2 separate regions of the Homo sapiens genome follow, and region 2 is linked to region 1. The links are contacts of gene promoters, found by promoter capture Hi-C in human tissues and cell types (Jung and others, 2019). All regions are on one chromosome and are shown on one strand. The core of a region is centred on a gene start or on the middle of the fragment in contact, and the rest is flanking DNA. Distances in the headings are between cores, read along the strand shown.

What was found. The method cuts DNA at HindIII sites, captures the fragments that hold promoters and counts their contacts. A contact is called where the count stands out against the background at its distance.
Region 2: the fragment with the promoter of CCL22 here is called in contact with a fragment that was not itself captured in region 1 in 2 of the 25 tissues and cell types used here (adrenal gland and thymus).

The regions. Positions count from the first base shown.
Region 1 is chr16:57,491,438-57,494,610 of GRCh38, reverse strand. No RefSeq gene overlaps it. Among named protein-coding and RNA genes, the nearest start is that of DOK4, 6.5 kb to the right of the region's middle. The HindIII fragment of the contact is 9,222 bases long and covers 1-3,173 here.
Region 2 is chr16:57,357,149-57,360,321 of GRCh38, reverse strand. CCL22 (C-C motif chemokine ligand 22) reads right to left here and starts at 1,539. Exons shown (of 3, transcript NM_002990.5): 1 at 1,433-1,539. The coding sequence starts at 1,505. The HindIII fragment of the contact is 38,120 bases long and covers 1-3,173 here.

The DNA.
Region 1 (3,173 bases), core at 359-2,858:
ACTATTGCCCAGTAGTAATGAAGCCACCTCCACAGTGGTATCAGTGGAGAACATGAGGATGCTGGAACTTCCATCCCTGCCCAATAGTAATGAGTGGGCAGCCTCCTGCAAGATATAAACAGAGGCCAAGTGGAGAACGTGGACTTCTATCTCCACCTAACTGTAACTAGGTGGTGTTCCCCTACCCCTGCTGGAGCAGTAATCAGAGAAAGCCAGCTAAAACAGGAGGCTTAAACAAACTCCAAAGTCTCATAACATAATATGAAAATATCCAGGTTTGCAAAAAGCACTCATCCCAAGAATCAGAAAAATCTCATACTGAATGAAAAAAAGGCAATCAATAGATTTCAACACTGAGATGACAGAGATGTTGGAATTATCTGACAAAGATTTTAAAGTGGCCATCATAAAATGCTTCAAGGACCAACTGCGAACATGCTTGAAACAAGTAAAAAATAAAACATAGAAAGTCTCAGCAAAGAAACAGAAGGTATAAAGAGATCCAGTGGGAATTTTCGAACTGAAAAACACAATAACTGAAATAAAAACCTCAGTGGGTGGGCTGAATAGTAGAATTGGGGAACAGGAAAGAGTCAGTGAACTGGAAGAGAGAGCAATAGAAATTGCCCAATTTGAACAACAGAGAGAAAATACACTGAAAAATACAGGACCTGTAGGACTGTAACAAAAGATTTAGTATTTGTGCCATCAGAGTCCCTGAAAGAGAGAAGAAGGAAGACAAGGCTAAAAAAAGTACTCAAAGAAATAATGGCTGAGGCCAGGCACAGTGGTTCATGCCTATAATCCCAGCACTTTGGGAGGCCGAGGCGGGCGATCACCTGAGGCCAGGATTCAAGACCAGCCTGGCCAACATGGTGAAACCCTGTCTCTACTAAAATTATAAAAATTAGCCGGGCTTGGTGGCACACGCCTGTAATTTCAGCTACCCAGAGGCCGAGGTGGGAGAATCCCTTGAACCCGGAGGCAGAGTTTGCAATGAGCCGAGATCACGCCACTGCACTCCAGCCTGGGCAACAGAGCGAGACTCCATCTAAAAAGAAAAGAAAAGAGGCCGGGCGCGGTGGCTCACGCCTGTAATCCCAGCACTTTGGGAGGCCGAGGCGGGTGGATCATGAGGTCAGGAGATCGAGACCATCTTGTCTAACACGGTGAAACCCCGTCTCTACTGAAAATACAAAAAATAAAATAAAATAAAATAAAAAATTAGCCGGGCGTGATGGCGGGTGCCTGTAGTCCCAGCTACTCAGGAGGCTGAGGCGAGAGATTGGCGTGAACCTGGGAGGCGGAGCTTGCAGTGAGCCGAGATCGCGCCACTGCACTCCAGCCTGAGAAACGGAGCGAGACTCTGTCTCAAAAAAAATAAATTAGCAAAAAATAAAAATAAAAAGAAGAAAGAAAAGAAAAGAAAGAAATAATGCTTTTCCACCTATCTTGGTATCCCTTAACACAAAATTAACCATCACAGTAGACTCTAGAGCAAAGAAAACTACCAGAGACAGAGAGGGACGGTATATAATAGTAAAAGTGTCAATCTATCAAGAAGATATAGAAATCCTTAATACAGGGCCGGGCATGGTGGCTCACGCCTGTAATCCCAGCACTTTGGCAGGGCGAGGCAGGCAGATCACAAGATCAGGATTTCGAGACTGGCCTGGCCAATATGGTGAAACCCCATCTCTACAAAAAATACAAAAATTAGCCAGGTGTGGTGGCACACCCCTGTAGTCCCCGCTACTCAGGAGGTTGAGGCAGAAGAATCACTTCAACCCGGGAAGCGGAGATTGCAGTGAGCCGAGATCGCACCACTGCACTCCAACCTAGGCGACAGAGCAAGATTCCATATCAAAAAAAAAAAAAAAAAAAAAAAGAAGAAGAAAAGAAAAGAAATCCTTAATACACATGCACCAAGCAAGAGAACTACAAAATATGCAAAACAAAAACTGATAGAAGTGAAAGGAGAAATGGACAAATCCACACTTATAGTTGGAGATAGCAACACCTCTTTCCAGCTATTGATAGTACAACTAGATATAAAATCAGAAAAGATGCAGAACTTAACCACAGCATCAGCCAACAGGATCTAACTGATATTTTTAGAACACTCTACCTCAGAACAGCAGAACATACCGTGTTTTCTTTTTTTTCTTTTTTGAGACAGAGTCTTGCTCTGTCGCCCATGCTGGAGTGCAGTGGCACAATCTTGGCTCACTGCAACCTCCGCCTCCTGGGTCCAAGCAAGCGCATCTGGCTAATTTTTGTATTTTTAGTAGAGATGGGGTTTCACCGTACTGTCCAGGCTGGTCTCAAACTCCTGGCCTCAAGTGATCCACCCGCCTCAGCCTCCCAAAGTGCTGGGATTACAGGCGTGAGCCACCACACCGGGCCCACACCTTGTTTTCAAGTGCTCATGAACATATACCAAGATAGACCATGTCCTGGCCATAAAACAAACTTCAACAAGTTTAAAAGAATTGAAATCTTACAGAGTGTTTTTTTCTGGCTACAATGGAATCAAACTAGAAATCAGTAACACAAAGAGAACAGGAAATTATCCAAATACTTAGAAATTAAACAGTACGCTTCTGAATGATCCATGGATAAAGAGAACGTTTCAAGGGAATTTTTTAAAAGATACATTGAACTGAATGACAGCGAAAGTAAAACATATCAAAATTTGTGGAATACACCTAAAGCAGCACTAATATGGACATTTATTTCACCTTAGAAAAGAGGAAAAGTCTTATATCTGTCATCTGAACTCTATATCATCTAAACTTGATAGACTGACACCTTAAAGACCTAGAAAAAAACAGCAAAATAAATTCAAAACCAGCAGAAGTAAGGGAATAATAAAGATAAGAGCAGAAATCAATGAAATCTAAAATGAGAGAGAGAGAAAGAGAGAGAGAGGGAGAGAGAGAGAATTAGTGGAACAAAGATTTGGTTTTTTTGAACAGATCAATAAAATTGACAAACCTCCAGCAAGACTGACAGAGTAAAAATGTCAGAGAAGACACAAATACCTACATCAGAAGTGAAATAAGGAATATTGCTATAAAACCTGAAGACATCAATAATAATAATAATAAGGTAATGTTTATTATTATTGTAAAGTTGACAACTTAGATGAAATAACTACTTCCCCCAAAGAC
Region 2 (3,173 bases), core at 290-2,789, 130 kb after region 1:
CTCATGTGGAAGGATGGTGACCAGAGGATTCTGAGCCCTCCAAGACCCTACCCTTGGAGCTTCTGAGAAGCCACTTAGGGTCCAATGTCTACACTCTGGGACAGTCAGCTCTAGGAGCGGGGATTCAGAACAACTAAGCATCAGCTGTAGCCTGAGGCCCAATTTCCTCCTCTGACCAAAGGGGTAATAACAGTACCAGCTTCAGAGGGTCTTTAATGCATGAAAAGCACTCAGAAAGCCCAGCAGCTGGGAGCAATTCTTGTTTATAGCTGCCTGACCCCACTCCAGTGCTCACTCCTCCACCCAACACAGCAAAAGTATAGAGTGGGGTGGAGAAGAGGAGTCAGGAATCCATGCTGAGGACAGGTTCTGGACAAAAATGGATAGTGAGCCCAGAGCAGTGGCTCACGCCTGTAATCCTAACACTTAGGGAGGCCAAGATGGGAGTTTCACTTGAGGTCAGGAGTTCGAGACAAGACCGGTCAGCATGGTGAAACCCCATCTTTACTAAAAATACAAAAATTAGCCGGGCATGGTGGCAGGTGCCTGTAATCCCAGCTACTCAGGAGGCTGAGGCAGGAGAATCACTTTAACTCCAGAGGTGGAGGTTGCAGTGAGCTGAGATTGCGCCACTGCACTCCAGCCTGGGCAACAGAGACTCCATCTCAAAAAATAAATAAATAAAATGAAATAAAAAATAAATTTAGGCTAGACGCAGTGGCTCATGCCTGTAATCCCAGCACTTTGGGAGGCTGAGGTGGGAGGATCATCTGAGGTCAGGAGTTTGAGACCAGCCTGGCCAACATGGTGAAACCCTGTCTCCACTAAAAATACAAAAATTAGCCAGGTGTGGTGGTGCATGCCTGTAATCCCAGCTACTCAGGAGGCTGAGGCAGGAGAATCGCTTGAACCTGGGAGGTAGAGGTTGCAGTGGGCCAAGATTGCCCCACTGCACTCCATCCTGGGCAACAAGAGTGAAACTGTGTCTCAAAAAATAAAATAAAATAAAATAAAAAATAATAATAATAACATTTTAAAAAATGGATGGTGGGAGGGCAGCACCAGCTTTCCAAGGGAGAACCCCTTGCCCCAGCCCTGCCTTCCCCCACTCAGACCTGACCCTTAGAAGCTCCTCACCCACACCCCTAGGGCCCTATGCTTGAGTTTTCTGGGGCAGGAGATCCCGAGGCTATGCCCACCACAACCCCCAACCCAGGTGAGACAGATCCTAGACTCCAAGTCTTCAAGACTGCCCATTCAACAGACTTGTAAACTGAGGCCCAGAGAAGCACTGCAACTAGCCGAAGGCCGCAAGAGCCAACAGCAGACTGAGGTCTTCTGCTCTTGGTCCAGTGCTTGTCCAAGACATGAGGAAGACACCCCACCGTCTGCCCTGGCCTCTGTAGGGGGTCTTCCTGCTCCCCAGCCTCACCTGCCTCAGTTGCTTGAAGCGCCACAGCAAGGAGGACGAGGACAACCAGGAGTGCAGTCTGTAGGCGATCCATGCTCTGTCCTGTATGTCTCAGCCCAGGTGTCTGCAAAGGGACATAGGAAGACCTGCTATTTAAGGTGCTGGCTCCACCCACAAGCCTCACTTACTTACCTCTTAGTCACCGGGGTGCCCAGAGTCACTTGACATTCACATCTCAAAAGAAGAACTACCTCCCACTTCCTCCAAAGTGGAGAAATTCTCTTTGGCGGGGAACCACTCAGAGGGGACCCCCCCTCAACTCTGTCCTCGCCTCTGGTTTCAGACAGACTTGTAAAATCCCCCTCTTAGAGGCTTGTGCTCCCCAGGGTCTCTGCACTGTGTGGCCTTGGCCATGTCTGGGTGTCTCTGGGACTTGGTTTCCCCATCTGGAAATGGGGGAGATGGTTTCACAGCTCTGTTGACTTCACTGGTTGTAAATCAAGTGAGAACGTGGACCAACCCTCACCTAGAATTGAGGCCTGTCTTGTACCCTTAATGACGGCATTACTGGTCTCTCTTCAATGGGAGAGGCCTATGGACCCATTGACCCATCTGGGGCTTCTCGTGAAGTCCACATTTGGGCCAGGTCGTGGATTTCTCAACGGTTTATGGAAAGCATCTACCCACACTTCTGTCCTGCCTGATCTTCCTTCCCAGTGGCTGCCGGGCTCTCCCTCCCCCACTCCTGTCTCAGTCCCTCACCATGTCCATGTCCCGTTGATTCTGCTTCCTAAATCTCTCTCAGATCTGCTCCTTCTCTCCAACCCCACTGTTCCTGCCCAGTCCAGGCCACCTCCACCTCAGGCTGGGATGCTGGCCTCCTCAATGCCATCCCCACCCTGCAGCAGCCAGCGTGAGTGGTCCAGAGCTACACACTCTCTCTCCTGCTTCAGAACCCTGCCGTGGCTCCCCATTCACCTAAAGGCAGGTCCCGGGCTCCTGTCTGTGGCCTTCAAGGCCCCGTTTCCGGACAGGCCTTTCCCCACTGGTCTCCTTCCCCTGAGGGATCACACCACACTCCTCACACTTCCTCAAAAGGGACTGCGGCCTGTCCCTGGCCTTTAATGTCACTTTCCACATCTCTACCACATAAACTCCTACTTATGCGTCAAAGCTGTTTGAAATGTCATGTCCTTGGTAAGCACACCCTCTCAGGACTTCAAAGCCTTCTAGGGGACCTGGAATGTGGCCCTGAGCAGACTGGGTCAGGTTTTCTCTTTCTCAAGCCCCTCCCTAGAAGTCAGACTCCAAGCTCTAGGAGGCTGGGGTCTCCCTTCATTTTTCTTGGCATTCCCAGGGCCCTCTGAGGATCAGGCACATGTTGGGTGCTCAGAACACATGGGCTGGGTGCAGTGATTCATGACTGTAATCCCAGCACTTTGGAAGGCCCAGGCAGGTGGATCACCTGAGGTCAGGAGTTCAAGACCAGCCTGGCCAACATGGAGAAACCCCATCTCTACCAAAAATACAAAAATTGGCCGGGTGTGATGGCATGCGCCTGTAATCCCAGCTACTTGGGGGGCTGAGAGGCAGGAGAATCGCTTGAATCCGGTGAGAGGCAGAGGTTGCAGTGAGCCAAGATTGCGCCACTGCACTCTAGCCTGGGTGAGAGAATGAGAGTCCATCTCAAAAAAAAAAAAAAAAAAAAAAAGAAAGAAAGAAAGAAAAAAAAGAACACATCTAATGAAGGAGGAAACTGAGG